Regions from separate parts of the Homo sapiens genome. Here regions 1 and 2 are each linked to region 3. The links are contacts of gene promoters, found by promoter capture Hi-C in blood cells and fetal thymus (Javierre and others, 2016). All regions are on one chromosome and are shown on one strand. The core of a region is centred on a gene start or on the middle of the fragment in contact, and the rest is flanking DNA. Distances in the headings are between cores, read along the strand shown. Region 1 overlaps UBE2R2 (ubiquitin conjugating enzyme E2 R2). Region 2 overlaps NDUFB6 (NADH:ubiquinone oxidoreductase subunit B6). Region 3 holds the start of NFX1 (nuclear transcription factor, X-box binding 1).

Region 1 (3,224 bases), core at 426-2,925, 530 kb after region 3:
AGCTAAAGGGGTGGTCTCACAGATGACAAGTATCATCTGAGGCGAGATCGTTTCTCTGGGTGGGATGTATGGTTCCTTAGCGACCACAGACATTGTTTCTGTTGTTTTATATGGTCTTAGAACAGTGGTTATCATTCCAGAATCTAATGATTTTTTTTTAACTCCAAGGTAGTTAACTTGGAGATAATGAGTGTTTGTTTTGTTTTGTTTTTACTTGAGTGTTTTTGCAGGGAGGAATCACAGATTGAAAGTCTGAATATTTTAAATGATGGGGGCAGAGAGAGGAAATGAGTGCTTAGGAATCCATTTAGTTTTATTTTTTTATTTTCAAAATTAAGTAAAATAGGCCAGTGAGTCAATTTTAGTTTGGAAGGGAGGGGTTATCTTGGCACAAGTTTTAAATGAGTATCTTAGTCATGTAGTTGTGATGTGTATTTTTAGGACTACCCAATTACTTAACTCTTGTTTTCTACCCTTCTAAAGGTGGAAACCTCAGTTTTATGCTTGAAATTAGGTCAACTTTGTAGGAAATGGGATTGATACAGGAATGTTTAATATTCACTACTGTATATAGTCACTGAGTACCTAGGAAAAGCACGTTTTTAGAATATTATGTAAGTGCGGTACCCCTACCAACTGTTAGGCTTCATCTTTTGTGGTCAGCCTACCCTATACTTTTCAGATGGAGGTATTTAAAATTACTAAGAAAACATGCAACTTATTAGTAACAAAGTGGAAAAGATATTGCTGTGTTTATGATGAAGCATATTCTCTGTTGTCAAATATAAATTTTTATGCATACTGGAAAAATTAGTTGTACAAAATTGAATGTATGTGATACCTTTCTTTTTTTTTTTTGAGACGGAGTCTCGCTCTGTCACCCTGGCTGGAGTGCAGTGGCGCGATCTCGCCTCACTGCAACCTCCGCCTCCCAGATTCAAGCTATTCTCCTGCCTCAGCCTCCCAAGCTGCTGGGACTACAGGCGCACGCCACCACGCCCAGCTAATTTTTGTATTTTTAGTAGAGATGGGGTTTCACCATATTGGCCAGGCCGGTCTCGAACTCCAGACCCTGTGATCAACCCGCCTCTGCCTCCCAAAGTGCTGGGATTACAGGCGTGAGCCACTGCGCCCGGCCATGATGCCTTTTCTGACAAAACATTGTTTAGCAAAATCTGCTGGCTAATGTTAGTGGAATAAAGTTTGATTTCCAAAAAGTGTCATTGTTTGGTACAACCGATATTTAAAATAAATAAATGGGTACTAGTTAGAATAATCTCACTCCAATAAAGTTAAAAACAAGAGCAAACAAAACAAAACAAAACAAAACTTGTACATGAGAGAAAATAATGGGTTGCAAGTTGTAATATTTGTGCATAAGTCTGGGAAAGGAGTGTGGAGAACCCTCTCTGAAATAGGAAGTATGGAAGGATTCCTTGTGTTAATACACTGATTTAAATTAAATGCTTCTGAACTTCAGTCCTTGTTTAAAAGAATGATTTAATCTCGTGCTTTGTGATGTTAGATTTCTTAAGCTTTGAGTGTTTTTACCTTTAATTCTGACATGTATGAAAATTTGTAAACAGGTTTTATGGTTTAGTCTTGTGTGAGAAGTTTGTTCGATTGTATTTTCGACTACTTTTTCCCTTATATGGCCTTTTATCCCATTAGTTGTTCATTAGAAAAAGGCAAATTTATGGTCATGAGCAGTTGACACTGGGGATATGTTTAAAACCATTGTTTTTATTTTACTGCTTTTGTCTTAAGACAAGGCTTTTAGTGTATTTCACTACAGCTGCAGTTGAAAGTTGGCACAAAGCTTTCCCTACCATATCACTCTTCTCCCTTATTAAATGTTAGTCCTTGAACATTTAGTATAATTTATTTTCAAGTTAAACTCTTTTCCCTTTTTGGCATAGTCATTCGTGAAGGCAGTGGGACTGCCAGTCATTCTTTACATTTTTCATACTGTAATTCCTTTAACTTTTATATATTAATAGGTTTCTAACTGATCTTTTTCACCCTGAAATAGTTGGCTCTTGTCTCTTACCCACAGGATCTGCATTGGAGATTTGTGAGACCTGTATTTCACAGAATTTTTTTATTCATCCTGCTTTCGCTTATTTAATATCGCCAATCCACGTGATTCTTAGTTTTGGGCCATATAGATGTAGGATGGGCAAAGATAGTTTCTTCTGTCCATTCTGAATACTATACAATCTTTTTTGGCCTTACTATCTTTTTGTGTAGTTTCTTATTTTGCTACCTAAGCAAGTCGGAATTTTATTGTTACTAGAAAAATAAATTGTGGATCAAGTCAGTAGCTAATGAAGACTTTTAACAAGTTCACCCCCTTTCTTTTGAAAGGAACTTTTTCAGGGTCTTTCTCTGTCACTTAGTTTGGGGTACAGTGGTGTGATCATGGCTCACTGCAGCTTCCACATCCTAGGCTCAAGCAGTCCTCCCACCTCAGCCCCCTGAGTAGCTGGGACTACAGGCATGACTACGCCCGGCTAATTTTTTTTTCTTCAGTATTGTTAAGTGAGGTAGGGTCTCACTATTTTGTCCAGGCTGGTCTCAAACTCCTGGGTTCAAAGGATCCTCCTTTCTCAGCCACCCAAAGTGCTGGTTTTACAGGCGTCAGCCACCATGCCCGGCTGGAACTATCTTTTCAAATAACTCCTGCTAAGGATTGTAGCTTAGTGTGGGTGCTTTAGTACTGAACCTCCTTGGAACTTTTGCATTATTTATCTAAAGCATTATAGCAGTGAGTCTAGAGCCAGAAAGAGTGCCTCTTTTATGATATGCATAACAAAAAAAAATTTTTTTTTTTTTTGAGATGGAGTCTCACTCTTTTGCCAGGCTGGAGTGCAGTGGCACGATCTCAGCTCACTGCAACCTCTGCCTCCTGGGTTCAAGCGATTCTCTTGCCTCAGCCTCCCGAGTAGCTGGGATTACCGGCGTGCGCCATGAAACCTGGCTAATTCTTTTTGTATTTTTAGTAGAGACAGGGTTTCACCATGTTGGCCAGGCTGGTCTTGAACCCCTGACCTTAAGTGATCTGCCCATCTCAGCCTCCCAAAATGTAATCCTAATTAGAGGCCTGAGCCACCACTCCTGGCCAACCTTTTATAGTTTTGATTTTATTAAATAATTTGATTGAGGTAATGAAATATAGATGTGTTCCATTTTTAGAAAACTCCAGTCTGATAATTTAGAAAGTA
Region 2 (3,440 bases), core at 37-2,536, 720 kb before region 3:
CCACTACTACTCCCAGCTAATTTTTGTATTTTTAGTAGAGACAGGGTCTCACCATCTTGGCCAGGGTGGTCTTGAACTCCTGACCTCGTGATCCACCTGCCTTGGCCTCCCAAAGTGGTAGGATTACAGGCGTGGGACACCGCGCCCCGCCTGCTATCTTATATTAAGAAATTGCCACAGCCACTCCAGCCTGCAACAACCATCACCCTGATCAGTCAGCAGTTATCAACATGGAAGCAAGACCTTCCATTAGCAAAAAGATCATACATAGTCACTAAGGCTCAAATGATCATTAGCATTTTTTAGCAATGAAGTTTTTGTTTTTTTCTTTTTCTTTTTTGAGACGGAGTCTCACTCTGTCGCCAGGCTGGAGTGCAGTGGCACGATCTCAGCTCACTGCAACCTCCACCTCCCAGGTTCAAGTGATTCTTCTGCCTCAACCTCCCGAATAGCTGGGACTACAGGCGCCCGCCACCATGCCCAGCTCATTTTTTTTATTTTTAGTAGAGGTGGGGTTTCACCATGTTGGCCAGGATGGTCTCGATCTCTTGACCTCGTGATCCACCCGCCTCAACCTCCCAAAGTGCTGGGATTACAGGCATGAGCCACCGTGCCCGGCCTGTTTTTTCTTTTTAAGGCAGCATATCAACCTGGCACCTAGGCCAGAGTGCAGTGGCACAATCACAGTTTATTGCAGCCTCGAAATCCTGGGCTCAAGCAATCCTCCCATCTCAGCCTCTTGAGTAGCTGGGATTATAGGTGTGGACCACTACATCCAGCTATTTTTTTTTCTTTTTTTTTGGAAACATGGAGTCTCACTATGTTGCCCAAGCCGGTCGAACTTCTGGCCTCAAGCAATCTTCCTACCTTGGCCTCTCAAAGTGCTAGGGCTACAGGTGGGAGCCACCACACATGGCCCAGCAATAAAGTATTTTTAAATTAAAGCATATACATCGTTCTTTTACACTGCTATTACACACTTATACCACAGCACAGTGTAAACATAACTTTTATATGCACTAGGAAGCCAAAAAATTTGTGTAACTCGTTTTGGTGGTCTAGAACCAAAGAATACTTTTGGAACTGCATTGTTCTACAACCAATTCTGAAATATCTCTGAGGTATGCCTGTATTTGGCCAATCTCCCTATATATAACCCATCTCCTGTCACCACAACCACATCCCAGCATTAATACCTGCCTCACCTCATTCAGGTTCTGACATCTTGCTCTGAGTTACCACTTGCCTCACTGCCTCATACCATCCTTCTTCCAGATGTCCTCCTCCCTCTGCTCAGGTACCAATATCCTATACTAGGCTGTTGCCACTGTTGCTCCCCAAACAGATGTGCTCACCCTCCTCCCCTGCAACCCACTGAGGATCTAACACCCCTCTCTTGGTATACGAATGCCCTCCTCACTCTTTTGTGCTCCAACACTTCAGGCTACGCAGTCACCACTGCTCCCTCTGCCACGCCACTTCCCAAAATGCATGCCCTTCTCATTCTGCCTGGGATCCAACACCCTGCACCAGACCAAGCCTTTAAAATACCACAACTGGCTCAGTTCCATCAGCCCATGCAAGATCTGTATCAGTGAAAAAGTGCAGGCATCTGGACATCCTGAGTTCTAAATAAATAAAAATTGTGAAGAATCAGATAAAATGAAGGGAACAGAAATTGGGTGATGACAAAGATATGCTTTGTCTATTTTGAATTTTTACCTTATACGAGATACAGGTTTTTAAAAAGGAGCAGAATTGTTTTCTCCCTTCCTATTCATGACTCCAAATTTACCCTAGTATTATTAGGTCACTACATTCTTATCACTTAAATACTAATTTCTATGAGGAAATCCATTTCAAGTTGTAAACTAGTGACAATATTTTTTAAAAACTATACCCAATTATGTAACTTTCATTAAACCTTTTACCTAAGAGAATTCAAAGTACTTCAAAATCTGTTTATAAGTGGCAGATTATTTCCACTAAGTAGGGTAAGATAGCCACAAAGAAAGTAATTTTGGACAATATTAAAAATGAATTCTGAAAAGGACATACTTACAGAAACATGATACTTCATGTAATAATGAATAATCCAGACAGGTACAAGTACATGAGTGAAAACAAAGATACTCTTTTTGTATACCCCATGGACCTGGGGGGAAAAACACATACACAAAATAAACATATCCCATTTTTTATATTTATGGCAGAACAAAAGGCATCAATGATGTAACAATGCCATGACTATTTTACAAAACTCTAAATGGCACATATTTTCTTATAGTCTGTAGGTAACCTCATCTACTCAAATATTCTTAGTAAATGCAGAGTCTGCTAGAAGATACCTACAAAGTCCAGACCAAAATGCTTAAGCAGTATTTTGCAAGACTATAACAAGGCATTTATAGATTTTTTAAAGACTTCCAAAAATATCCTTATTATAAGTTTGTTAAAGATAAAATATAGCAAAATAATGAAAGAATAATTTTAATGTATTTAACCAGAGTAATCAAACCTACAGAATTTTTCAGGTATAGTCATCTCCCTTATTTATTGATCAATGACACTCACATCATTTTAGGTATAAGGCAGACAACCTTGACAACGCCAATGCTGGAAAAAGGACGTTTTACATACTAAGATGGGGTGTCCCAAACTCACTCCAAAATGCCCTCTGCAACACTATTTTAAAAAAGAACTAAAAATGGAACTTTCCCATGTCTTCCAACTTGATTAAAAAACACCTATCCATTCAAGGAAGGGACAATCCAGAATCTAAGAATTATAACAGATATGATTATAAAAGAATAAATTAAAGTAAGGTAAGGTGAACTTCGACACATTATTATTTATTTACTTCCTTATATCACTTGCTGATGGATGGGATGTCAACTTTAAATCAGTGACTGCCAATATTCCGATAATGTCAGGGATACAAAGGGTGGGAGAAGAGTTGAATTTTACCACCATAAATAAGTATCCAATATCACTTTCTCAGAAAAATTTTCAACAATTCTATTGCACTAGACTTTGTAGCACAGTAAGAATCAGATACATGTTGATTACAATATGAACTCATATTCAATTCCTAGCTCCCTGACCACCAGCAAATCACTGAAGCTTTGTAGGCCTCAGTTTCTTCACATTTAAAATGAGGATTAGGAATATCTACCTTACAGGAATAAAGAAATGAAGTAACACATGTAAAACCCCCAGTAGAGTGCCAAGCACACAGCAAGCACCCGTGTGTTACGTAGTATTGTTACTACTATTATCCTGTCATCAGTAAGTGTTGCAGGTAACTGAAAGCAATTCTGAGATGTTTATCATCCATAACAGTCCTCAAGAAAATACCCAGAGGCCTTGAAAATAAAGTTCTTGAATGAGTGATTTTCTTCAAAGCCCAAAATGCGATTTTTTTAATGAAACACTGTGTT
Region 3 (3,015 bases), core at 177-2,676:
CACAAGCACCTTAGTCATCCCTCCTCTCCCCCTGCCTCCTGGCCTGCCACCCCACCCCAGCGTTTACCCCAAAGCACAATGCCCTGGTCACTTGGCAAGTGGCTGGGCCTGACGGAGGCCAAGGGGCAGACCGGGGCTCCAGCCAGACCCCCGAAAGGAAGCAGGTGCTCCCCCACTTCCAGGACTTAGTTGGGGCGGGGGGCCCAGCTCCTGGGCCTAGGGTCTTCTCACCCCCACCCCCTTGTCCTGGGTAGGCCCCTGCCTGCCCCTCTCTGCCTTTTCCTCGGGTGTCCCTCCTCGAGCCCCTGCGGCACTGGCTTGGGTGGCAGAGCCCACTTGTTTCAGGGACCCCAGGAGGTGGTGCCCCCTGGCTCCTGGGACTGTGTGTGGGTCTGGGGGGTGGGGGGGTGGGGAGAAGCGTCGGGCAGGGGGTGCAGGGGAGGAAACTCCTCACCAGGAAAGCCAAAGACAGGGTTGTGCCTTACCTCAGGAGCCACCCGTTCCCCCTTGCCCTGCCGTTCACCCTCCACCTTTCCCCCCGGGCGGCCTGCTGCTTTTTCCTTCTCTTCCTCCCCTGCCCTGCCCTGAGCTGCATGGTTCCCCTACCCTGGGAAGCCAGGAAGGAATCTGAATGGAGAATCACCAACCACCAAAGAAAAAAAGACTGCGGGGCCCTCCCCTGCCAACTCCCCTTCCCTGGCCGCCCACTCACCCACACCTCTTTCACGCAGGACAGGCTGCCCACCCTGTCCACGTGAAGTGCCAACGCCCTCCCCACCCTGGGCCGAGCCCCCACCCCTCCCTGGGCCCCCAAGTGAGATTGCACATTTAACTACTGTAAGGAGAGGAGCGGCGTTGGCAAATGTGAACCATGAGAATATCGGTGATACTGATGAGAATAAACGCCTTTGTAAAAAAAAAAAAAAAAAAAAAAGTCTGGAGCCAGGCGTGGTGGCTCGCCTGTAAGCCAAGCACTTTAGGAGGCCAAAGCGGCAGGATCGCTTGAGGCCAGGAGTTGGAGAGACTAGCCTGGGCAACATGGCGAAACCCGTCTCTACTAAAAATAGCTGCGCATGGTGGCTCCGCCTGTAGTTCCAGCTACCGGAAGGCTGAGGCGGGAGGATTAGAGACTGAAGCTATAGTGAGCCATGATCAGACCACTGCACTCAAGCCTGGGTAAGGCAGCAAGACCCTATATCAAAAAATAAAAAAAGGAAAACCACAATGATTACGCAAGTCGCCGCCCTCCCTCCTGCGATTGTTGCTATTTCCATCCAGCTACTAGTCTCCTCCTCCCGCCCGACACCTGGCGCGTCTATCTGACGTCACGAACGCGCCACACAGATTCGGGCTGCGCAACCTCTGTGGCCGTCTACACGGCGCGCAGATGCGAATATTCTCGCGGCGCCGGAAGTCCGGGGCACGTGACCTGGTGACAGTGCTGACTTGGCTGTACAGCTCGATCTAGGTTCTGCGGCACGGGATGGCGGAGGCGCCTCCTGTCTCAGGTATTGTCCCGGCCCGAGCGGGACTGGGCCCCTTTCAGGGAGCGGAAATTGGGTCAGTGACGAAGTTCTAGGGCCTCAGCCACTCATATCGCGAGAGTAGCACATGCTAGGGCGTAGGATAGTGGCTCGGAAGGGCCAAGCCCCGCGCATCGTGCGTACGAAGATCTGTGTCTTCTTGGACTAGATGGTGAAGCCCAGTAGCTGGGTTTCGGAGGAGAGAGGACTTGTCCCGGCGCTGCGAGTCGATGTGGGTGCCCTGCCTTCCCACAGGCTGTTTCTGGGGCAGCGGCGCACTGACCTTCGACAGGCGGGCGTCGGCCAGGTCACAGCCAGTGACGGTGGCGGGCTCTTGACGTGTAGGGTGTGGTGTGCTCATACCGCCTGGAGTGGTGGCGTGGGCGCGAGCCGAATTCCAGTAGTTTAGAGTCTCAGCCTGCTGCGAACCCCGTGTGACTCAGTCTCAGTCTCCTCATCTGTCAGTTGGGAGTAGATAAGTTAATTCCTGTGATGGCTCCCGCCCTGTACTGTACCTATTCTGTAATTGTTCACTCACTCCCCCTCCTGGAGTTGCCTCAGTGTGTAGAGACAGCCTCATTTGTTCGTTGATATAACATCCATTTCCTCAGGGTGTTCCATAGATCAGTGTTTTCCAAATGTGTTGGACAGCAACCAAAAGAAACATTTTGCATCGCGACCTTAAATATTGTACACTTACATAAATATAAAAGCGAACCAGAAGTTTCTGGAAGCAGTGAGGTTGGTTGGTTTGTTTTACAATCAGCAATATATTCTGTTTTCTGTTTCGTTTAAAAATATGTCACAGCCCACTGCCTTCATTTGATTTTATGGCCCACTCTGGAAAACAGGGCAGCAGTTTGCAGAATGGAGTTTGGAAACCATTGGTTTGAATCTCAGCTCTGTCCCTGACCAGCCGTTGGGGCACCAAGAAGACCATATATGTATTTGTATACTGGGTGGCAGGTAAAATGTATTTATTACTATGGTTCTTAGTTTAAAAAGTTAGGGCCGGGCGTGGTGGCTCACGCCTGTAATCCTAGCACTTTGGGAGGCCGAGGTGGACGGATCACGAGGTCAGGAGATCGAGACCATCCTGGCTAACACGGTGAAACCCCGTCTCTACTAAAAATACAAAAAATTAGCTGGGCATGGTGGCACGCGCCTGTAGTCCCAGCTACTCCGGAGGCTGAGGCAAGAGAATTGCTTGAACCCTGGAGGCGGAAGTTGCAGTGAGCCAAGATCGTGCCACTGCACTCCAGCCTGGGCGACAGAGTGTGACTTCGTCTCAAAAAAAAAAGTTGGAAAACACACTGCATTGGTGTACCCTAGTCTTGATGTGGATATTAAGTCTTCCTTGGGGTTGGAAAACTTTTTGGGCTGGGTATTTTGTTATTCTCCTCACCTAGTCCTTCACCAGATTCTCTAAACTGGATCTATTGATCGTCTCATCCACAGGCTCGTTTCTGACTCATTTCTGTACCCTTCAGTG

What was found. Contacts are between HindIII fragments. The CHiCAGO score rates a contact against its expected background, and 5 or more counts as called.
Region 1: a contact is called between a fragment that was not itself captured here and the fragment with the promoter of NFX1 in region 3, in 3 of 17 cell types (naive CD4 T cells, total B cells and fetal thymus). The highest score is 6.1, in naive CD4 T cells.
Region 2: a fragment that was not itself captured here is called in contact with the fragment with the promoter of NFX1 in region 3 in 1 of 17 cell types (monocytes); the score reaches 7.5 in monocytes.

The regions. Positions count from the first base shown.
Region 1 is chr9:33,818,799-33,822,022 of GRCh38, forward strand. All of the region lies in intron 1 of UBE2R2 (ubiquitin conjugating enzyme E2 R2), which reads left to right. It overlaps UBE2R2-AS1 (UBE2R2 antisense RNA 1), which reads right to left and starts at 70. Exons shown (of 5, transcript NR_170204.1): 1 at 1-70. The HindIII fragment of the contact is 284 bases long and covers 1,534-1,817 here.
Region 2 is chr9:32,568,898-32,572,337 of GRCh38, forward strand. NDUFB6 (NADH:ubiquinone oxidoreductase subunit B6) reads right to left here. Exons shown (of 4, transcript NM_002493.5): 2 at 2,063-2,155. Among named protein-coding and RNA genes, the nearest start is that of NDUFB6, 2.5 kb to the right of the region's middle. The HindIII fragment of the contact is 3,670 bases long and covers 1-3,121 here.
Region 3 is chr9:33,289,090-33,292,104 of GRCh38, forward strand. NFX1 (nuclear transcription factor, X-box binding 1) reads left to right here and starts at 1,427. Exons shown (of 24, transcript NM_002504.6): 1 at 1,427-1,508. The coding sequence starts at 1,484. It also overlaps the pseudogene LOC100862682. RefSeq lists enhancers at 1-317, 1,023-1,442, 1,453-1,502, 1,472-2,671, 1,653-1,702. The HindIII fragment of the contact is 6,050 bases long and covers 1-3,015 here.